6 separate regions of the Homo sapiens genome follow, and all the other regions are linked to region 1. Evidence: promoter capture Hi-C in human tissues and cell types (Jung and others, 2019). All regions are on one chromosome and are shown on one strand. Each heading gives the region's core, a stretch centred on a gene start or on the middle of the fragment in contact. The rest is flanking DNA. Distances are from core to core; before and after follow the strand shown.

What was found. Contacts are between HindIII fragments. The study calls those that stand out against the background at their distance.
Region 2: a fragment that was not itself captured here is called in contact with the fragment with the promoter of KDM2A in region 1 in 1 of the 25 tissues and cell types used here (dorsolateral prefrontal cortex).
Region 3: a fragment that was not itself captured here is called in contact with the fragment with the promoter of KDM2A in region 1 in 2 of the 25 tissues and cell types used here (dorsolateral prefrontal cortex and hippocampus).
Region 4: a contact is called between the fragment with the promoter of AIP here and the fragment with the promoter of KDM2A in region 1, in 5 of the 25 tissues and cell types used here (dorsolateral prefrontal cortex, heart left ventricle, hippocampus and 2 more).
Region 5: the fragment with the promoter of RAD9A here is called in contact with the fragment with the promoter of KDM2A in region 1 in 1 of the 25 tissues and cell types used here (dorsolateral prefrontal cortex).
Region 6: a contact is called between the fragment with the promoter of LRFN4 here and the fragment with the promoter of KDM2A in region 1, in 1 of the 25 tissues and cell types used here (dorsolateral prefrontal cortex).

Annotation. Positions count from the first base shown.
Region 1 is chr11:67,117,350-67,120,897 of GRCh38, reverse strand. It overlaps KDM2A (lysine demethylase 2A), which reads right to left and starts at 1,635. Exons shown (of 21, transcript NM_012308.3): 1 at 849-1,635. It overlaps LOC107984341 (a long non-coding RNA gene), which reads left to right and starts at 2,550. Exons shown (of 2, transcript NR_160735.1): 1 at 2,550-3,548. RefSeq lists silencers at 494-583, 1,109-1,248, 1,429-1,498, 1,639-2,078, 2,259-2,538 and 2 more and an enhancer at 2,149-2,198. The HindIII fragment of the contact is 11,710 bases long and covers 1-3,548 here.
Region 2 is chr11:66,637,426-66,640,973 of GRCh38, reverse strand. The region is part of intron 1 of RBM14-RBM4 (RBM14-RBM4 readthrough); the gene reads right to left. It overlaps RBM4 (RNA binding motif protein 4), which reads right to left and starts at 2,271. Exons shown (of 4, transcript NM_002896.4): 1 at 2,222-2,271; 2 at 851-1,274. The coding sequence starts at 1,262. RefSeq lists enhancers at 1,395-2,106, 1,973-2,342, 2,107-2,820. The HindIII fragment of the contact is 5,623 bases long and covers 1-3,548 here.
Region 3 is chr11:66,671,178-66,674,725 of GRCh38, reverse strand. All of the region lies in intron 2 of RBM4B (RNA binding motif protein 4B), which reads left to right. Among named protein-coding and RNA genes, the nearest start is that of RBM4B, 4.9 kb to the left of the region's middle. The HindIII fragment of the contact is 6,507 bases long and covers 1-3,548 here.
Region 4 is chr11:67,481,018-67,484,565 of GRCh38, reverse strand. It overlaps AIP (AHR interacting HSP90 co-chaperone), which reads right to left and starts at 1,540. Exons shown (of 6, transcript NM_003977.4): 1 at 1,309-1,540. The coding sequence starts at 1,407. RefSeq lists an enhancer at 1,639-1,698. The HindIII fragment of the contact is 17,225 bases long and covers 1-2,038 here.
Region 5 is chr11:67,389,717-67,393,264 of GRCh38, reverse strand. RAD9A (RAD9 checkpoint clamp component A) reads right to left here and starts at 1,279. Exons shown (of 11, transcript NM_004584.3): 1 at 1,187-1,279; 2 at 1,034-1,104; 3 at 483-611. The coding sequence starts at 1,220. LOC100130987 (a long non-coding RNA gene) reads right to left here. Exons shown (of 4, transcript NR_024469.1): 4 at 1,578-1,867. RefSeq lists enhancers at 658-1,162, 1,197-2,112 and a silencer at 1,063-1,432. The HindIII fragment of the contact is 15,866 bases long and covers 1-3,548 here.
Region 6 is chr11:66,855,814-66,859,361 of GRCh38, reverse strand. LRFN4 (leucine rich repeat and fibronectin type III domain containing 4) reads right to left here and starts at 2,298. Exons shown (of 2, transcript NM_024036.5): 1 at 269-2,298. The coding sequence starts at 1,617. All of the region lies in intron 12 of PC (pyruvate carboxylase), which reads left to right. RefSeq lists silencers at 2,413-2,522, 2,683-3,212. The HindIII fragment of the contact is 20,544 bases long and covers 1-3,548 here.

The DNA.
Region 1 (3,548 bases), core at 386-2,885:
TCCAGAGAGCTGACCAGGTGAAGCACCACTGAACTAATCCAGATCCTAACCAAATTAGTTCTCTCTCACCGGTAATCAGAAACTAAAGGAAAGAAGGGCAAACTGACTATGTAAAAAGAGGACAAAAAATTAGGATTTAAATGACCCCAAAACAATTTCCCATACCCCTCCTGTAAGGCCGTGCACAATCGTCGCCTTCCTTTCTAGACTCCCCGGATCTTATCATTCCCAAATCTACCCTCCACCCCAACACAAGATGTGCACAACTCTGAAACAAATTTCAGAGGTGCAAATCAAGGACCAAAATTCCATCTGATCTTTTTGGATAAAGTAATAAAATAAACGATTGCATCTAAGGATACAAGGAAAATACATCTTGTCCAAAAATTAAATAAAAGACCGGCCGGCGCGACGGTCAATCCGTAATACCAAGAAAGGGTTTTCTTTTTTCTAAATATTCTCGTGGATAATGGCTTCCATTGAGAACACAGGTTCCCCCCGTTTTTGTCACTACATTACAGCCACGTTAACAGCATCCTTTCAAAACTGCTACGAGACCAGAGGACCCGATGACACAGTTTGCAGAGCAGTTAGAGGCAGAGCCCTCCCGGAGGAAGCCCTGGCCCGAAGTCGGGAGGGAAACCGTGCTTGCACCCCCTGGGCGACGACCGCCTGGGCATGGAGCAGCCAGGGCCGGAGAGGAAAAAGGGCGAATCTCGCTGGGCTCCCCCAGGAAAAGGCGTTTCAATGGTTCACCCATCGGAAAAAGAGATAGAAACTTTGCATTCAGTCTTTGGATAACACAGTCAACCAAACTTCCAAATGAGGGGGGGGAGGGGGAAACTCACCGGAGATTCTGCTCTTGAGTTCTTGTCCAAGTGAGAAGTAAAAGATTCCAAAGCTGAGAGGAATAATTAAATCCCAAACGTCGTCTTCGGTTTTTCCGTGGATCAACCCAGTATCCAGAGAGGGTCAGAGCGACCAGGAAAAGGGAGCAAACAGTTGCTGAATCAAACCTTCTCTTCTGGCTTTGGAGACCGGGAGTCGGAGGCGTCAGGAGAGAGGAGCGCGACCCCTCGGCGCCGAGCCCGGGGCGCCCCCGCCTCCCCCAGGCCAGCGGTCAGCAGCCCGGGCCCGAGCCCCGGGCCGGCCCCGGCCGCAGGGAGCGCCCTCCTCGCCGTGCCCTCGGCCAGCAGGGGCTGGTCGCCTGCGGGAGCAGCGGCCGATCAGCTGAGACCGGCCGGCCCGAGGCTCCCCGCGCCGCCCCGGCCCCCCGGAACGCGGGCCCCGGCCCCGGGGGGCGGACAGGGCGGGAGCGGCGCGGCGCGCCGGGATGGGGGCCCTGGCTCCCCTCGCGTCTCCCCCTCAGGTCTGGCTCCGCGCTGCGGGACGAGCCCCCCGGCTACTCCCCAGTCGCAGAAGAGGGATTCCGGGGGATGGGCCCCCTGGCGTTGCCCCTCCTCCCGGAGCGTCCCCTGCCCAGGAAAGACAGAGCGGCCACGGGCCCAGCCGCTGGGAAGGTGCTCCGAGAGCCGCCGCCGCCGCCGCCGCTGCCGGGGAGGGGTGTTGTTTCCCTCACACAGGAGGAGCCGCTGAAGCAGCCGCCGCCATTTTGAACCCGTCAGACTCTCACATACACACAGCTCCTCCGAGGCGCACTGCGCAGGCGCCACCTCCCCACCCCTCCTCCAGCTCGCCTCTCCACCCCCCCACCCCCTTCAGGCCTCCCTGCGCTTCTTACCGCTCTCCCGGGCGCGCGTGAACGCGCACGCGTCACTCCCCTCTAACGCGGACACACCGCCGGCGCGCGCACGCGCGGATGCGTCGGCCTCGAATCGCCCGCGCCCCGCGACGCCGACGCGGCTCCCTGCGCCCCCTCGCGTCAGGCCGCCCGCCCTCCCTCCCTCCCGCCAGCCCGCCGCCCCCGCTCCCCGTCGGCGTTCTTCCAGGGCTCGGGCCTGGCTGGCTGCTCGCGCCTGCGCGCAGGGCACCGATCCTCCTCCGCGCGCCCTCCCCCCACACACCCTCACACACACTTCGCCTCTGCGACCCCGCCCCTCGCGGCCAGCTGTGCTGGCCGCCCTCCCCCACCCCCCTGGGAGGGTGGTGACCCCCGACCCCCCACAAAGCACATCACCCCCCCCAAGCAGTGGGAGATCTGCGTCCCCTTCCCCTTCAACCGCCTTTGGCCCCAGGCTGCCCGTCACAGTCACACAACCTGAGGGCCGGGAGGCCTGGGCCAGGGCAACCGATACCCGCCTCAAAGCAGGGTCTCCCGGGGTCAAGCCGCCGGGCTGGGCCCGCGGGACCTGGGCTCCCGGCTCAGGCCTGCCCAGGGCGAGAGGGCGCAGGGAAGGGGCGCATGGCCGCCGGCTGCCCTCCCTTCGCGTGCCGGCCGGTGGGCCGAGGCCGGCTTGCCCGCCATTCCCGGGCAGGCCCCGGCGCCGCCGCCACGGGGCCCGTCTGCCCTGGGCCCGGGGGCTCCTCGGTGCAGCGGCCTGGCCCCGCCTCACCCACTGCTCGTCGCTCCGAAGGGGCAGGAAACAGGAGTAGCATGTCTGTCCTGGGCTCGGCTCCCCGGGGGTGCTGCAGGCGCTTAACAAGGGCGTCCACAGGTACCAGGCGCAGAAGCGGTCTCCGCGACGGCCCGGGGGCGGTGGCGGCCGGCGCGCCCACCGCCGGCCGGAGGCGCCCGGCGAGGTGGCCCAGGAAGCCCCCGCTCCTCGGCCACGCTCAGCTTTCCGCCGCGCCGGTGCCCCCGGCGGCCCGGGTGGGACGTGACCCCGCCCCCGGCGAGTCGGGGCGCCCCCCACGGAGGGGTGCGCGGGCCGCCCCCGGCCCCCGGCCCGACCCTGCCGCCCTGGGCCGTGGCGGGCGCGGGAGGCCCGGCCGGGAAGATGTCTCCTGTTGGTGCGCGCAGCTTCGCGCGGGGGTCAGCGACGGGGCAGCAGCCGCCCGAGCTGCGCCGGCCCTGCCCACGGACCGACTCCCGCGGCCCGACAGCTGCCCGACGGGCCAGCAGGCTCCGAACGTCGACGGAGCCCGGCCGGAGGTACCCGAGCAGTGCCATGCGAGCAGCCCAGCCGCGATCCGGGCATTTCCCCAGCCAATCTCTTGCTCTGGGGCCCGTTTAAATTCTAAATCCCACAAAGGACGGTGGCTGGGGCGTTACACATCGGGGTTGGCACTATTGGCTCCACTACGCCCTTGCTGAGCGGTGTCACACAAATCTTTTTCTCCCTGCCTTGGTTTCCCACTCTTTAAGCTCTGACTCCTGGAAGCAGGGAATGGAGCAGAGAGGTAGGGCATGGAGTGAATCATATAACCTGCATAAACAGCCATCAACTCTTTCAGGAGGACGTTAGCGAGACAATTAAAATAATGATACCTTCTAATTCTATCAAGGCTTGAACTCCAAGGTAAAAGCGCTACGTAAATGCAAGGTATTATTATTTATTACCACAGAAGGTTTTTCTGCATGCACAACTTGGGGAGTTTGTACAGACATTCTCTGCTTTGTTTCACAACATCCTTAGGAGACAAGCTAA
Region 2 (3,548 bases), core at 571-3,070, 480 kb after region 1:
AATCTGAAAATTCAAAATCCAAAATGCTCTAACAAGCATTTCCTTTGAGCAACATGTAGGCATTCAAAATGCTGGGGATTTGAGATGCTTCCAAATGAAGTGACAATCCACATATCACCCATGCTGCCCTCCAGGCACAAAAGATTCATTTGGTTAAGACTCCAAGATAACACAAATCTAAGTGCTCTATTCACCAAAATCTTATAAAGTCCAGCCCCCCAAACCAATGAAAAGACAGTCATTACCGCCCCTAAAACCCCAGTGCCTCCTCCCCAGGAAGTCCTAAAATCAGCCTTGTAATTCTAGAGTGGCCTTAAACTCAAAATACAATCCCTTGGTACAGGTATAATATAAAAGCAACAAGAGCTGTAACCCTTTAAAGAGTTTGTGTAAGGTAGGACAGCTTAACAAGGATTCTGGTCCTATAAGTGTCGCTTGACATGTTTTTGAGAGGTTCTTCACGTAAAATGCAGAATTCTGATCCTGTGCTGAGGGCAATAAATTCAGAGTGAGGAACTCTGAACTGTGCTCTACTACAAAAAAATAAAAAATAAAAAAGGCCCAGTAACTCAGAAAGCCTTCAAAGAAAAGGGTTTCTGCACTGATAAGCACAAAAGCCGTAGGGGCTCCAAATAAAAGGTGAGTGGCTTTTCTCCAGGAGACATTTGCCTAAGGTAAAGCCCCTAAGTCCCATGCATTCTACATCATAAGAAGTCCATCACCCACACTTATTTCTTCATCACCAGCCAGCCAACAGCTGTTATCTTTACCAAACCTCTCCTTTTACTTATCCAACCATTTTCTGCACACAGCCTTGTGTTCAGCCCTCTACCCAAAGAGGGTGGTTCACCTTGAAACTCTGTGTTATCAAGGCCCCTGATGGCCTCCACTGCATCCTCTGCCCGCTCCATGTGTACGAAGGCATAATCTTTCACGATGTCACATTCGATGACCGGACCATACTCCTCAAACTTGGCTCGAAGCTCCTTATTGGTGCAGGTGGGACTGATGTTGCCCACATGCAACTTTGTTGAGGTTTTGCTCTTATTCTTGCTGGCTTCCACGTTGATGTTCACCCCATGAAGCTTGTAATGGTGCAGGTTGCGTATGGCATCCTCAGCTGCCGTCTTGTCTTCTATGTGCACAAAGCCGTAATTCTTAATGATGTCACATTCCAGCACCTTCCCATACTGCTCGAAGAGTGAGCGAATCTCCTGCTCTGTAGCCTCCCGGGGCAGGTTTCCGATGAACAGCTTCACCATCCTGACAAGAGCCTGGGAGAGAAAAACAAGACATCTGACAAAAGACCTCAGGCCCACATCCGTTCACAAAAGACAACGACTTTCACTCTAATGTATATTTCCAGTTTTCTCTCTCACACGCCTGCACACACACCTCCACACAATAATCAAATGGAAGTGGGAGTGAACTAAGGCCTGCTATAGTAGCCGCCATGAACCTGTAAGAATAAGAAGACGTCTGCAATAGGGAGGTCCTTAGTAGACAAAGGGTTTGGTAAGAACCGATACCTTCCAACAGAAATGGGCATGAAAGACAGCATATGAAGAAATGGGGGTACTAGGCTTTTCTATCCACTAGGAGGACAACAGAAAACAAAAGTCTACTAGGCTTGCTGACTGCCTGCCTGAAATTATCAACAGGCTTTTCCTCACGTAGGAACCAAAGCAGCCATCATTTCCGGGAAAATGGGCCTTGTAATAGCTACATTTGAGTTTCCTTTGGAAGTAATGAACGCGCGACTCGGATCAGACAGCGAGGAGTGGGAGATAAAGGAAATACTGGAGTGGTGAACGCCTCTCTCGGGGCACCGTCCTAGCTCCTGCCGAACACTGAAATGCGCGGCCGCGGAAAAGAGCTTCAGATTCATTAACCAGACGATGTCTCACGGCCCGAGAAATTCCCGAAACGAGAATGTAACTGTCAGATATAAGGGAAAGGGGGTTATCCCAGTGGAAATCTCGAGGCTCCAAGAGCAGCCATGTCGGGCGCGGGACAGGGTGGGCGAAAAAAAGCAAGGTATTCTCAGGGGGCGGTGGGGGAAGGGCTGCTCCCGGCTTACCGCGCAATGCCGAGGACCGAGGTCGGCTCTCAGTGACGGGTGTGGAGACTGCGGACCTACCAGGACACCCCCGAAGCCCAAGGGAGTGAGAGAAGATTTAACACAGTACAAGAAAGGCAGTGGAAAGGCTCGGAGTCTCACCCGCACAGAAACCAGCAGGGCCTCCTCCTCGCGGCGCGGACGCTTCTGACAAAACGCTAAAATGGCGGCGGCCGCAGCAGTGCTCTGAGTAGAAGGGGGAGGTGAGCCTACAACCGGATTGGCCACTCAAGAAAGTAAAAGGCCGGCGTTCCCTCAGATCCTCTTCCTGATTGGTTACCACGGACGCCAATTACCTAAGAGGCCGGCAAGAGGTGGAAACGTCTGTAACCTCGGAGCTTTTATGCGAAAGCCAATGGGCACCAACCTCGCGAAGCCGAACTCGCTGATTGGGCAAGAGATCAGCGTGAGGGCGGACCTACAAACGTGGGCTTCGCCGGCGGGGTGCGGCCCGCCATTAGGCGGAGCGAGCTAGAGCCCCGGGGTAGCAGTCTTTAGCTTCATGGCGCCAACTTCGTTAAGCTTCCACATTTCGCCACCTCCACGTGCACAGCCAGACAGTATTCCGCGCTCCATTTTGCCGTTCACTCTAGGTGTCTCCCTCTAACCTCCCAAGCACCACCCCCCCTCGCGGCCAGGACGCTGTGGAAATAGCTTATGCAGGCACATGCCAGGGAAGAAAAACAACGAAGACCCCCCCCAACCCACCACCCACCACTTCAGGAAACCAACCTTCTCCTTGGGCCAGCAGTCCACACTGTAGCCTTGAGAGTCCCGGAGCTCCCCCAAAATCAAACCTCTCACAGGTGGTGAAAGGACCTCTGTAATGGCCTTCCAGAAGTAGGCCCGGCAGGAGGCTGCACTGTCCAGGAGACGCTGAGGACAAGTTCCCTCTGGGAACCAGCCTCCCAGGGTCCGCGATGAAGAAACCTTTCTGAGACCATGGAGATTTAAAGTATACCCCGACCCCACCCTGAGAAAAAACTGGAGCAGCAAAGGTTTTTTTGTTTTATTTTATTGGGCGCCATCAGCCAGAGCTGTTTTAATCCCCTAGAACCGACTTTAGAGGACAGAGCTTAGTCACAACCAGCTGTAAACAAAATACAAAGTAACATTCTCCAGAGGGTCCAGCTGCTGCCTCGTTTTCTCTCATCCTTAGGCTGCTTCATATTCATTAAGCAAGCAACTTTAGTCAAGACCCTTTGCGAAGCAGCTTTTGAAAAGGGTTAAAAGGTGGAGTGCAGGGACTGGATGGAAGAACTTATAACACGAACAAAACAGGCTAAAAGCAGTGCAGAGTTTATGAGGAAAGGGATCATCAGGAGTGAAGATGACACAAGTACCACACACCACCATCCAAAGCAGCTTCTTCACCACCACCCCCGCCCCAAAAAGAGAACGGTTTCATAAAGAGAAAGGTGAAGTCAGA
Region 3 (3,548 bases), core at 736-3,235, 450 kb after region 1:
CGTGGTAGTGTGTGCCTGTAATCCCAGCTACTCGGGAGGCTGAGACAGGAGAATCGCTTGAACCTGGGAGGTAGAGGTTGCAGTAAACCGAGATTGTGCCACTGTATTCCAGTCTGGGCAACAGCGAGACTCCTTCTCAAAAAAGAAAAAAAAAAAACCATATATATATTTAATACAACTGAATAAAAGGAAAAGGACAGGCCGGGTGCTGTGGCTCACGCCTGTAATCCCAGCACTTTGGGAGGCCAAGGCGGGGGGATCACGAGGTCAGAGATTGAGTCCATCCTGCTCAACATGGTGAAACCCCGTCTCTACTAAAAATACAAAAAAAAAATTAGCCGGCCATGGTGGCAGGCGCCTTGTAGTCCCCACTACTCGGGAAGCTGAGGCAGGAGAATAGCGTGAACCCAGGAGGCAGAGCTTGCAGTGAGCCGAGATCATGCCACTGTACTCCAGCCTGGGGGACAGAGCAAGACTCCATCTCAAAAAAAAAAAAGAAAGAAAAGAAAAAGAAAAGCTACCTGAAGTTAATAAAAAAAAAAAAAAAAGAAAAAAAAATCAGTTAATTGGGGGGAGTTGGCTTAGGATGAATATGTGTTTTAATAAGGCAGGTATAATTACTTTAGGATGTATCTGAATAATGCAGTGGATCCATAAGATTTTTAAAAACATCACTTCCTTAGAAAGTGCAAACACTAAAATGAATTGGAAAAGAAAAATCCTGTATTTGGTTTTCATGTTCTTAACTTGGCTCCTCTGGAGATAGCACTCTCCTCCTAGTTATAGAGACGTTTTTATAACTAGCTCTGGTTTTTTTTCTCCCAGATGACAAGAGCAAGCTTAGCACTGGATAGTAAGTTGTAGTTTTACAGAAAATACAGTCTGGATACCAGTTTGACACGTTTCAATTTAAGTTATTTTCAGTTGTCTACTAATGAAGGTGGCCTCTTAAAAGGGCCACTTGAGCCCGGGTGAGGTGGCTCACTCCTGTAATCCCAGCACTCTGGAAGGCCGAGGCGGGGGTGGATCACCTAAGGTCAGGAGTTCAAGACTAGCCTGGTCAACATGGTGAAACCCTGTCTCTACTAAAAATACAAAAATTAGCTAGGTATGGTGGCACACACCTGTAATCCCGGCTACTCAGGAGGCTGAGGCAGGAGAATCACTTGAACCCAGAGGCGGAGGTTGCAGTGAGTCAAGACCGTGCCACCGCACTCTAGCCTGGGCAGCAGAGCAAGACTTAGTCTCAAAAATGAACCAACAAAAAAGTGCCACTTGAACATCTTTTGAACCTTTATTTCTATATGTTAATGGCTGCCATTGAGGCTTTTTGCATTGTATGACTTCTAAAAGGAAGTAGCGGAATCTGAGTTTACTTTACTCTTTCAGGATCTGTTTCCTTTTTACAGCCAGCAGTGAACTCAACTTATTTCCTTAGACACATAGTTTGTATTGGAAGACCTAAAGAAGCTATTCCCAAATAACAATCAGGCAGCTTAATTGGGAAGAATGTGTGAGAGTTCAGGTGTCTTTTTTTTTTTTCCCTATATGTAAACAAGCATTAAGTCAGAATACTACTCTGTATTAGCTACATCCCCAGTCTTTTCTGGATCATGGCACTTGATAGGCGCTCAGAAATTAAGACCCCAAGTTTCCCACTTCTCAGCATTTTAATGCTCTTTTCTGTTACAGCTTTCAAAATAAAACACTTATAGGGCTGGTTTTCTGGAAAATGTTGGCAACAAACTTCAGTAACTTTTGGAAGTCCCAGGAAATTTTAAGCTTTTGGCCTACTTTGTCCAAGTGTAGTAGAGTAGAAGAATTAATCTTTCATTTTTCTTTGCCCTGGTTCCTTAAGGTATAATAATAGAGAGGCATAGTCTTTTTCAATTACTATAAAAACTTTAGGGTATTTAAATTTAAAGGCTAGGCTGGATGTGGTGGCTCATGCCTGTAATCCCAGCCCTTTGGGAGGCCGAGACAGGCGGATCACCTGAGGTCAGGAGTTCGAGACCAGCCTGGCCAACATGGTGAAACCTCGTCTCCACTAAAAATAGAAGAAATTAGCCAGGTGTGGTAGCGTGCGCCTGCAGTCCCAGCTACTCGGGAGGCTGAGGCAGGAGAATTGCTTGAGCCCAGGAGGCAGAAGTTGCAGTGAGCCGAGACTGCGCCACTGCACTCCAGCCTGGGCGACAGAGCAAGAATCTGTCCCCCCCCCCCAAAAAAATTAATAAAAATAAATTAAAAGGCTAATTATAACCGTTGGAAGGACTGGTTGTTTTGGTTTTTTTGTGGGTTTTTTTTTTTTTTTTTTTTTTTAGACAGTCTTGCTCTATTGCCTAGGCTGTAGTGCAGTGGCACAATCTCAGCTCACTGCAGCCTCCGCCTCCCGGGTTCAAGTGATTCTTGTGCCTCAGCTTCCCAAGTAGCTGGGACTGCAGGCATGTGCCACCATGCCCAGCTAATGTTTTGTATTTTTTTAGTAGAGAGGGGGTTTCACCATGTTGGCCAGGCTGGTCTCGAACTTCTGGCCTCAGGTGATTGGCTCACCTCAGCCTCCCAAAGTGCTGGGATTACAGATATGAGCTACCACACCCAGCTTGGAGAAACTGTTTGAAAAAATTTTTTTAAACTCGTCACCCCTATTATAGATTTTTTTAGTTCTAGGTTAAAAAATTGGGCCGGGTGCAGTGGTCACGCCTGTAATCCCAGCACTTTGAGGGGGCTGAGGCGGGTGGATCACGAAGTCAGGAGTTCAAGACTAGCCTGGCCAAGATGGTGAAACCCCATCTCTGCTAAAAATACAAAAATTGCTTTAAAACCACACCAATGGTGGCAGGTGCCTGTAATCTCAGCTACTCGGGAGGCTGAGGCAGGGAATTGCTTGAACCCGCGAGGTGGAGGTTGCAGTGAGCCGAGATTTCGCCACTGCACTCCAGCCTGGGCGACAGAGCAAAACTACGTCTCAAAAATCAAACAAACGCAACAAAAAAATTGATACCTGCATCCTTTTCACAACTACACAGAGGTAGATTTTACCACAGATAAACTTGATTTCCCACCCTCTAAATAAAAGCAGGAATGAAGATTGGATTTAGTTAAAAAACATCAAGGTAAAATTGCTGGGTTTTGTTTCTCCAAAAAATGGACCCAGAATCTATAAAAGTAAAGTGCAAATTTAATTGAATTTTTTTGTTAAAAATGTTACTTTTAGGTCTCTGGATTGGCTCCTTTTTAGACTGTCATGGTCACTCTGACTTCACAATTGGAGTATACTTTGTGTCTGTCACATAGCTTAATGTCACCATGTATATTTGAAAGCCAAGTCATTTATAATCTTTTAGTCTAAATTATAGGGAACTATGCATTTGAGATATAAATTGTGGCAGAAATCTGTGTTTCTGTTCAAAGCACAGTTAGCATTGTGGCCCCTAACATCTAACAATTAGGAGCATTTAAATCTCTGAAAACAATGGGATGGCAAAATGCTTTTAGAGATTTAGTGCCATTTTGGGTATCTGCTGACTCTATTGGTGATAGTGGATGCG
Region 4 (3,548 bases), core at 291-2,790, 360 kb before region 1:
GGGCAGGGAGAGTTTTTAGAGATAACACTGGGGGTGGGTGCAGAGAAAAGAGGTTTGGAGATTGAACTCTCGACAGGATATGGTTAGAGGAGCCCACGCTCTTAACTGCCGCACCATGCTGCATCTCTGAAGTCAGTTTCCACATCGGTAAAACGGAATCAACAACAGTACCTATCTCACATTGTAGGAAATAAACGTGTGAAGCATGTAGCACAATGTTCGAATAGTGAGCACTCAATCAGTGCTGGCGATTGGTTATTTAACACCACCTGTTTCTGATCTTGGGGTGCCATTGTTCACATCTCTCCTTCTGATGTCTGTTCCATCCAGGATCCCCCTTGCCAGCCCCTTCTTCCAACGCCACCAACCCCCCAGCACATGGGGGCATGAACCCACACCACACATCCTGTCTCTTCTTAGAGAAGATATCTTTTCATACAGCGGATCACTCCAGCCATGCAGCTCCCCTCTGCTCTCAGGGCACTTATACTGCACTGGGCTAGGATGCTTAGCTGCCCGATTCGGCACGGTGCTGGCCAGGGGGCATGTGCTCATTTGCTCAATGTGCATGTCCTGCCTGACTGCTCTGCTGGGCACAGGGGCTGCCCCTGGGAGGTTCCCTACTCTGCAAACAAGTGGCAGCTGGGAAAAGCACTCCGGGAGGAGGCAACTACAGGAGAAGCAGGGAAGCCTGGAGTTGTAGGTTGGGGGAGAAGCGGGCAGAGGGGCTGGATCTGGGGGCCTGGCAAAAAGGAGAAAAGTGGGAGGTTCTTTACTTCCCAACCCTCATCTGTCCCAACAAGCCCCTAGTGCAGCAGGAAGGCTGCTAAAGAGTCCCTGTCTGGGAGACCTGACCTCTGGGCCCGTTCTCCGGCTTTGCACGTCCCAGGGTCTTGGTTTTCCACTCTAAACAGCGGCAGTTGGTCTAAGTGTTTTCAGAAGGCCCTTCCATCTACAAAGGATCATGAGCCTTGAAACCCAGATACCCGAGGACCACTCCCGGCCCTGGGTTTCCTCCAGCGTGGGGTCTGCCCAAGCACTGAGATCAACCCCCAACCCCAACCCGCTTGTGATGACTGACGGCCTCCCCCACCAATGCTGCTACAAGGCCGAGCCAGGGGGCGGGGCAGACAGGCCCGAATTCACCCCCTACTTAAATTCAGCCCAATCAGCGTCGAGTTCTGCATGTGAGCGGTAGGGGCAGTGGACGCTGCCCTCTGGGCATGCGCAACCTCTCGCCTAAGGCCTCCTCCCGCCTCGCATGCGCACCACGCCGCAGAGGGGGAGAAGGGTAGGGTAGACACGAACCTTGGTCCCATCTTGAAAGTCCGGGAGCTCTCCTCGGCCTTCCTGTATCACACGTTTTTGGATCCCGTCCTCCCGGAGTCTTGCGATGATATCCGCCATCCTCCTTCCCCGCTGCTCCCTTTCGGCAACTTCCGGACTCGCTCGGTAGCTTCCGGACTTGCTTCGGCAACTCCTAGCACCTCGGCAGCTTCCGAGCTAGCGCCATTTTGGTTGAGGGCAGAAGCCAAAAGGGACTGAGCGTGGAAACGGATGGTGATTGGTTCTCTGCGCTGGGGCTGAGCGCGCGCGTCTGCTCGGGGGCGGAGCCTAGGAATGTCTCGGGGCTGGACCCCAGCCTGTCAAGGAGGAAGGGCCGGGGTCCGCGGGCCGGGCGGGACGAGGACGTCCCTAACAATTGTCATTGAATTGATTGGGACTGCGGCCGTGTGGCACTTTGTTTGAAGTTGTGGATGGAATATAACAGCACTGCAGAGTTAGGAAAATGAAAAAAAAAAAAAACACCCGTAAGCCACACCCTCAAAGTGTTATGATTTTTGTGTATTTTCTTCCGGCTTTTTCTCTTTCGCATATCTAGTATGATTGTCGGGACTCTTGCATCCTGGATCTTCCTCTTTCAAAAAATAAAAAGAGGAAGAGGGAAAGAAAGGTGGAGAAGGAGACCAAGAGAGCCCATTGCGGGGTCGGAAATGAGTCATAGTTGTGCCCAATTAATATTAGGGAATAATCGATGAATGATAGAAATGAGGTACTTTAGCGCCGGGCGCGGTGGCCCTGTAACCCCACCACTTTGGGAGGCCGAGGCGAGAGGATCGCTTGAGCCCAGGAGTTCGAGGCTGCAGTGGGCCGTGTTCGTGCCACTGCACTCCAGGCTAGCCGACAGAGCGAGATGCTGTCTCAAAACAAAACAAAAAAAAAAAATTAAATTAAAAGAAAAGAGAAATGAGGTACTTTGGGGCTAAAACAACTTTTGTTTTTCTTTTTTTGAGACGGAGTCTCGCTCTGTCACCCACGCTGGAGTGCAGTGGCACAATTTCAGCTCACTGCAAGCTCTGCCTCCCGGGTTCACGCCATTCTCCTGCCTCAGCCTCCCGAGCAGCTGGGACTACAGGCGCCCGCCACCATGCCCGGCTAATTTTTTGTATTTTTAGTAGAGACAGGGTTTCACCGTGTTAGCCAGGATGGTCTCAATCTCCGGACCTCGTGATCCGCCCACCTCGGCCTCCCAAAGTGCTGGGATTACAGGCGTGAGCCACAGCGCCCAGCTGATATGAAACATTCTAAATAAAATACTAGGCTAATTGAATTCACTAATGTCATGTAAAAATGCATCAGTATGGGGCAGGTGTGGTGGCTTATGCCTCTAATACCAGCACTTTGGGAGGCCAAGGCAAGTGGATCTCCTGGATCTCCTTGAGCTCACAAGTTCAAGACCAGCCTGGACAACATGGCAAAATACCATCTTCACCAAAAATACAAAAAATTAGGTGGTGTGGTGGTGCACGCCTGTGGTCCCAGCTACTCAGCAGGCTGAGGCTGGAGGATTGCTTGAGCCCAGGAGATGGAGGTTGTAGTGAGCCAAGATCGCACCACTGCACTCCAGCCTGGGTGATAGAGTGAGACCCCATCTCAAAAAAAAAAAAAAAGCATCAATATGCTAAGTGAAATAACAGTACCAGTCACATACAGGAAAATACTGTATTATTCTACTTATGTAAGGTACCTAGAGTAGTCAGATTCACAAAGACAGAAAGCAGGGCCGGGCGCGGTGGCTCACACCTGTAATCCCAGCACTTTTGGAGGCCAAGGCAGGCAGATCACCTGAGGTCAGGAGTTTGAGACCAGCCTGGCCAACATGGAGAAACCCCATCTCTACGAAAAATACAAAAATTAGCTGGGTATGGTGGCACGTGCCTGTAATCCCAGCTACTCGGGAGGCTAAGGCAGGAGAATCGCTTGAACCCAGGAGGCAGAAGTTGCATTGAACCAAGATCGCGCCACTGCACTCCAGCCTGGGCGACAGAGCAAGACTCCATCTCAAAAAAAAAAAAAAATGACAGCAGAATGGTGATTGCCAAGGGCTGGGGGCAGGGGGGTGGGAAATGGAGACTTGTTCTTTGATGAGTGTAGAATTTCTGTTTTGAAAGACGAAACTGTTCTGGAAATTGGTTGCATAACAGTGTGCATATACTTAACGCCACTGAGTATACACTTCAAAACGGTTGAGATGGTAAATTTTATGT
Region 5 (3,548 bases), core at 30-2,529, 270 kb before region 1:
TCTGTCACCCAGGCTGGAGTGCAGTGGTGCGATCTCAGCTCACTGCAACCTCCACCTCCCGGATTCAAGCAATTCTCCTGCCTCAGCCTCCCGAGTAGCTGGGATTACAGGCGCGTGCCACCACGCCCAGCTAATTTTTGTATTTTTAGTAGAGACGGGGTTTCGCCATGTTGGCCAGGCTGGTCTCGAACTCCTGACCTCGTGATCCGCCTGCCTCGGCCTCCCAAAGTGCTGGGATTACAGGCGTGAGCCACCGCGCCCGGCCAAAAGACGTGCTTACCTTTCTTGACGAACTTGAGCGTCACCACCCTCTCAGGTCCCCGCTGTGATGCTTTTACCATGGCCCTCCCTGTGTTTTGCATGGATTGGGCTTGCACGTGTCTCTCTCCCCACTTAGCATCTACTGAGTACCCCAGGGCAGAGGCACAGCTGGTGGAGATTCCTGGGGTGGAGTAGTGCCACTGCTGAGGGAAGGGCCTCACCTTCATCAGGATCTTACAGCGCAGCAGGTCCTGACCAGGGGTGGCTGCCTGGTATTGCTGGAAGAAGAGCGGGGCAAAGAGAAAGCAGGCATAGGCAGAGCGGGAGGAGTTCACCGTCCGGAGGGAGAGCTGGGCCACGAAGAGCAGGGAGAGGGACGTGGTCAGGGGGCAGCCACAGACCCAGCCCTCTGGCTGCTTCTGCTCACACACTTGCCCTATCGTCCTCCCGCTCCGCCACCACCTGCTGAAAAACCCTCCTTTCCCCATGGAAGCCTTCAGAGTCGGCCCCGGCGCTGCTGCCGCAGAGGAGGGGTCGCACACCCAGGCCTTCCCCGAGTTTCTCTAAGTGCACGTCACCCCCTGGGAGCTCGCAGGACAGCTTTCCTCAATTCACACACCGGCCTGGGAAGATGACAGCCGCCAGACTAAGAAACTGAAACTTTGCCGACAAATCTGCCAGCGGTCATCCCGCCTAGTGGGGGCGAGACTCTAGTCCGGGTTACCCGCTCCCGGCTGGAGTCCCACCCGCCCCCCACACCCTAGCCCCTCACCCCGTCCTCCAAGGGTTCCAGGTAGAGCTCGTCCCCGATGCGGGACAGGGAGTGGACGGCCTTGCCGAGCACTGCGGGGAGAAGAGCGGAAGGGGGTTAGGCTGGCGGCTCCGCGGCTGCTGCACCGCCGCTGCCAGGCCGACCTGCACTCACCCTTCACGTTGCCGCCCGTGACCAGGCACTTCATGCTGCCCCAGCGCTCCGCCAGCGGCCAACACTGCCCAGCTCTCCGCGACCTCCGGGTCCGGGGTCCCTTCCCGCGCACCGCCCCTGCCGGCCCCGCCCCCGCCTCCCCATTGGTCCACGTGCAGGCGCCTCCGTCACGTGAGAAAAACGCTCACAGGCTCTGCCGTCACGTGACGGCGCACGTTGTCCGGGGTGTCACGTGACCGGGGAGGCCCGCGGCGCCCGCCAGCCAGCTGCTCCTGGCTCCCCCGGCACGCCTCGGCCTTCCGTGCCCCTGGAGATCGGGGCGTTCCGCGGGCCGCGCACCGGATTGCGAAGGTCAGAGAGGACGCAGCTGTGGGGCGCGAGGTCCCTGTGCAGTGGACCGAGTGCTGGACTCGGAGTCGGAGTGTGGGGGCGAGCTCTCTGGGGTCACCCACTTAGTAGAGTTCCCGGGCGTCTGCCGGGGGATACAGGGTGCAAGCAAGACCATCGCACCCACTCTGGGCCTGAGACTCGGACTCCAGCAGCAATCCCCAACTCTAGAAAGAAGTCAAAGCAGCTTGCTTGCAGCAGCCGGGAGTGGGAGGTGGCTGCTCCTTCCGGCTTCGAGGATCCTTTAAGGAAAAACGGCAGTTTCTCCAGGCAGAAAGGGGTAGAACGGTGCCCCTGGCAGAGGGAAGAACAAGAGTAAATGCTCAGCGGTGTGGGCTCCGCCCCCTGGAGAGGGGAGTAGGTCTGTGAGTCTCAGAGAGGCGTAGGGGCCGCCAGATGATGAGGGGCACCGCTGGGACGCTCTGGAAACGTTTTACGAGGGTAGATCGTGGTTATGTGCCTTTTTTTGTTTGTTTGTTTTTTGAGACATATTCTTGCTCTGTCACCCAGGCTGGAGTGCAGTGGCGCGAACACGGCTCACTGCCGCCTGGAACTCCTGGGCTCAAGGGATCCTCCCATCTCAGTCTCCTGAGTATCTGGGACCACAGGCACACCCACCACGCCCGGCCCTTTTTTTTTTTTTTTTTTTTTGGGTAGAGACGGAGTCTTGCCATGTTGCCCAGGCCGGTCTCAACTGTGGGGTTCAAGCTGTCTTTCCGCCTTGGCCTCTCAAAGTGGAGTGAGCTACTGCACCGGCCTGTTTTTTGTTTTTTGTGTGTGTGTGTGGGGTTTTTTTGTTTGTTTGTTTTGAGATAGAGCCTCGCTCTGTCGCCCAGGCTGGAGTACAGTGGCACGATCACGCCTCCCAGGTTCAAGCGATTCTCCTGCTTCAGCCTCCCAAGTAGCTGGGATTACAGGCGCCTGCCACAACGCCTGGCTAATTTTTGTACTTTTAGTAGAGACGGGTTTCACCATGTTGGCCAGGCTGGTCTCGAACTCCTGACCTCAAGTGATCCGCCCGCCTCGGTCTCCCAAAGTGCTGGGATTACAGGCATGGGCCACCGCGCCCAGCCCCGGGTCTGTATTTTTAAAAGACCCCAGACTGGCCGGGTACGGTGGCTTACGCCTGTAATCCTACCACTTTGGGAGGCCGAGGCGGGCGGATCACGAGGTCAAGAGATCCAGACCATTCTGGCCAACATGGTGAAACCCCGTCTCTACTAAAAGTACAAAAAGTAGCCGGGCATGTTGTCACGCGCCTGTAGTCCCAGCTACTCTGGAGGCTGAGGCAGGAGAATTGCTTGAACCCGGAGGCGGAGGTTGCAGTGAGCCGAGATCGCGCCACTGCACTCTAGCCTGGCAACAGAGTGAGACTCCATCTCAAAAAAAAAAACCAGACTGTGTGCCAGGTGGGGATGCATCAGCTGGAAGGTATTCCCCTTCCCCTGGGCTTCCGGGTCCACGTGTGTAAAATGTAAGGGAGTCCTGGAGAAACTCACTGACCCCTACTCTCCCCACAGTACCAAGGCTCTGGTAGTTCTTGGAAGGGCCCAGGGCATCCCTGTATTCCTGCAGGGCCTGCCCGTGCCTTGCCCCTCAGGTCCTGTGGTAGTGCAGAAGATATATTTATCTCTGCCACCCTTGCTCTCCAGACCCACTTTCAAATGAGTTGAATTGATACATAATAATTGTACACATTTGGATACATGCATACACTTTGTTTCTCCCTCTCCTTCCCTTCTGCTCCCCTCGTCACCAGCCCTTGCCCCTTCCGTGGAGCCTTGGGGGAGGAGGTTACTCTTCCCTTCCCCTTCCCGGGGGATCCATGGAAATAGTGCCCCTGTCCCTGGGCATCCGGCTCAGTATGCTGGAGTCATCCTTGACCTCATGCTCGCCCTCACCCCTACACAGTCTTTCAGTTAAGTCCTGACCACTCTGCTTCCCAAACAGGTGGCAACTTAACAGGTGGCAACTT
Region 6 (3,548 bases), core at 1,049-3,548, 260 kb after region 1:
CAACCGCCACCTGCTGCCGGGGAGGCCTGCACAGCTCAGTGACACCTGGGACATCTCGGGGTGGGGTCCTTCTGCCGCCCCTTGAGCTCCAGCCCCCTCAGGCAGCCAGGCCAGGCCAGGCCACTGCTCCTCCAAGAGTCCAGCAGCCATGGTCGGGGAGGGGGTGTCAGCCCCAGAGAGAGGAGGGGTGGAAGCAAAGCCTTGTGGGGAGCAGAGGGCGGAGGAAGGGCGCCGGGAGTGCAGCCGGGTGTGGGGCACGCATCCTCACCGGTAGATGAGGGTCTCATCTTCGCTGCTGTTGTACTGGATTTGGAACATCCACACTGGGTCGGCTGGCCGCCCGGGACCCCAGCTCACCAGCCCTGAGGTGGCGGTCACCTCCGTCACCTGCACGGCTGGCTCAGACTCCAGCGTCCCCTCACCCTCGGCAGCAGTGCGAGCGGAGGCGGCGATGTCCGAGGGCCCGGGGCGGCCCCCCTCGGCACTGCTGTTCCCACCATGGGGCAAGGCCAGCACCCGCAGTTCTACTCGGGCTGTGGCCTCACCAGCAGGGTTGGTGGCGATGCAGGTGTAGCCCCCAGCGTCCCCAGCGCCGGTCACCCCAATCTCTAAGGTCCCGTTGGGGAAAGCCCGGGCTCGGGAGGAGTTGCCAACCAACCGGTCGTCAGGACCGACCCAGTGCATGGTAGGCGCGGGGTCACCCAGGGCCCGGCACCGCAGCGTGGCCCGCTGGCCTTCCAGCACCCAGAGGCGCTGCGTGTGGCGGGCAATGAGGGGCGGCTCACAGGAGAACTCGCCCTCGGGCACTGCCCAGAAGTAGCGGCCGGCCAGGCCGGGCGGGGAGGCGCACGTTTCCAGGTCGTCCGGCCGCGCCAGCCGCCGCAGCCACAGCAGCTCACAGTTGCAGTGCAGGGGGTTCCCGCTAAAGCTCAGCACCAGGGGGGCGGGAGAGGCCTCTGCATCACGCCCACGAGAGAAAAGCGGGTCCGGAGCCAGCGTGGCCAGGCGGTTGGAGGTGAGGTCCAGGCGGGAGAGCTGACCGAGCTGGGCGAAGGCGCCTGGGGGCAGTGCGTCAATAAGGTTATGGTCCAGGTTGAGGGTGTGCAGGGCAGGCATGGCGCCGATGCCGGCCCAGGGCACCTGCCGGAGGTTGTTGTAGGACAGGTCCAGGTCCTCCAGGCTCTCTAGGAAGTCGTCGAAGGCTCCCGGCGCGATGCGGCCCAGCTGGTTGCCGCTGAGGATGAGGTGCTGCAGATTGACGGGGCCCCGGAGGCTCCCGGTGCCCAGCTCCACCAGCCTGTTGCCGTCAAGGTGGAGGGAACGCAGGCTCTCGAGGTCCCCAAAGGCGCGGGCCCCAATGCGGGTGATGGCATTGCGAGACAGTGTCAGGTCCACCAGTCCCGTCATGTTGCGGAAGTCAGGGGGCCCCAGGGCCTGGATGAAGTTGTCAGCCAGCCGCAGCTCCACTGTGCGCCGGTCCACGTTGGGCGGCACAAACAGCAGGCCTCGGTGGGCACAGAGGGTGCTGAGCGACTCGGACAGGTTCTGGCAGACGCAGGGCAGCGGGCAGGCGGCCGCTCCACTGGCCAGCAGCAGCAGCAGGAGCGGCGGGGCCATGGTGAGCGCCCTGTAGGAAGGGGCCACAGCCCAGGCACAGGTGGGGCTGGCGCAGGTGCCCACTTGGGCCCAGGACAGTCCCAGAAGCCAGCTTCTGTGAGCCTGGCCCGGGGAGGGGCTGGGTCAGAGGCCCAAGAGGGCCGCCAGAGATGAGGGAAGGTTGGGGCCTGCAGGGCCAGGCCCCCCAGAGCAAAGGTCACATTTCCCAAGCAGTTAAGGGGGAGTCCAGGCGCTGGGGACAAGGTGAGGCATGAGGCAGGAAGCGGAGGAGGACCGAGAGCAGGGAGGGTCCCGGAACTTCCTTTCCCAGGCGTCCCCAGGAATCGCCAGCCGCCTCCCCACTCCCCGCCATACCCTCCCCCGCCAGAGAAGGCGCCCCCCGAACCTCCCGTGGAGTCCGTGGCCCCTCCCTGGCCGGCCCCCGCGCTGCGCCCGGCGGCCCCCTCACCTGGTGTCCGTCGCTCAGGGGGCGCGGGCCGGCCTCCCTGCGAGCCCGGCCGGCCCCCGCCGACTCCTGGCCGCTCTCCCGCGGGGACGAGGCCCGGGGATGACCGGCCGCCCGCCGCCCACCCTCGGGCCCATGGCGCTCGGGCCCGCGGCCCCGGCTCGCTCGGTTCCCGGCACCTTTTCCCGGCGCGGTTAGCGGTGGCGGCGGCGACAGGCGAGCGGGTGCGCGCCGGCGGGCGCGCGCGCCGCGGACACGCACGTGGAGGGCGGACGGGGAGGGGCGCGCGGGGATCCACCCGGGCCCGGGCCGGCTCCTGAGGTCACGGGGACACGCGGCCGCTGCAGCGCCCACGGGTGGCGCCCAGTCACGCCCGAGGCCCGGGCCGGCGCGGGCCCTCCGCGCTGTCCCCCGGCGCTGCCGCAGCGCACTCACCCTGGCACAGGCGCGCGCGCCCCCGGCCATCCTGGCGCCCCGGCATCCTGCACCGCACGGGCGCCCGCCGCCGCGGCGCGAACCTCACTCTGCAGACAGCCAGACAAAGCGCCTGCTCGCGGGCCCCTTCACCATCTCCCGGAGACGGGCGTCTTTGTCACATGTCGCTGGGCACCCTCCCCAACACACCCACACATGCCCACACACCCACACGTCCCTGCACCCACGGGCAGGGCCGAGCGCAAACCCGCACTGTTGCTGGGACCCTTGCGTTCACAGACACACGCTGAAGGTCATAACCGTTCTGCATCACCGAGTCACGTGGAGGGTCCCCAACCGGCACGGGGTTCGGCCGTGGGGGGGGCTGGGGCGGCGCCCCTGGCAGGGCTGCTGCGGGGTGGGGCCGAGAGGGCTTGGCCTCCGGGCAGGCGCCCCGCCCCCGCCGCCCCGCCCTGTCCCCAGCTGCCTCTCGCCTCTCCCTCCCTCCCCAGCTGCCCCGCCCGCCCCGCGGGCCAGGCGTTCCGGAGCCAACCGGCCTCCGCCTCGGGCCGGATTGGTCTGCGCGGCGCGGCTTCCCAACCGCCGGGGGCACGCATTGGGAAGCTGTGCGTCCTCGCAGCGCCTGCGGCCCCTCCCTCCCGCTCTGTCGCCGCCGGGCCATTTCCCTGGAAGAGCGGCTCGGAACCAGCTCCTCTCAGAGAAAGGGCTCCCGGCGTGAGGTGGGGGAGGTTCTTTGCTTCCTGGTTGAGAAAGCTGGGGCTTCGGTGGCTCGGCGAGCCTGGTTTCCTTCCAGCTGTGCCCGCCACCACCAGTGGTCTGCCCAGTTGGGAAACAGGAAGTCACCACCTCCCCGTGTCTCCTGGTCCTTAAGCCACCTAAACCTCAGCCATCCTCGTTCTCCCTCCAGCCCTGATCCCCATGGGCCAGGTGGCAGGAAACTCGGGGAAACCCAAGATTGGAATTCTGATCCTGTCAGCACAGCAGTGTAGTCCTGGGCACGTTACCTGACCACTGAAAACAAGTTCCTCCTGTAGGCCAGGAGAGTTGGATG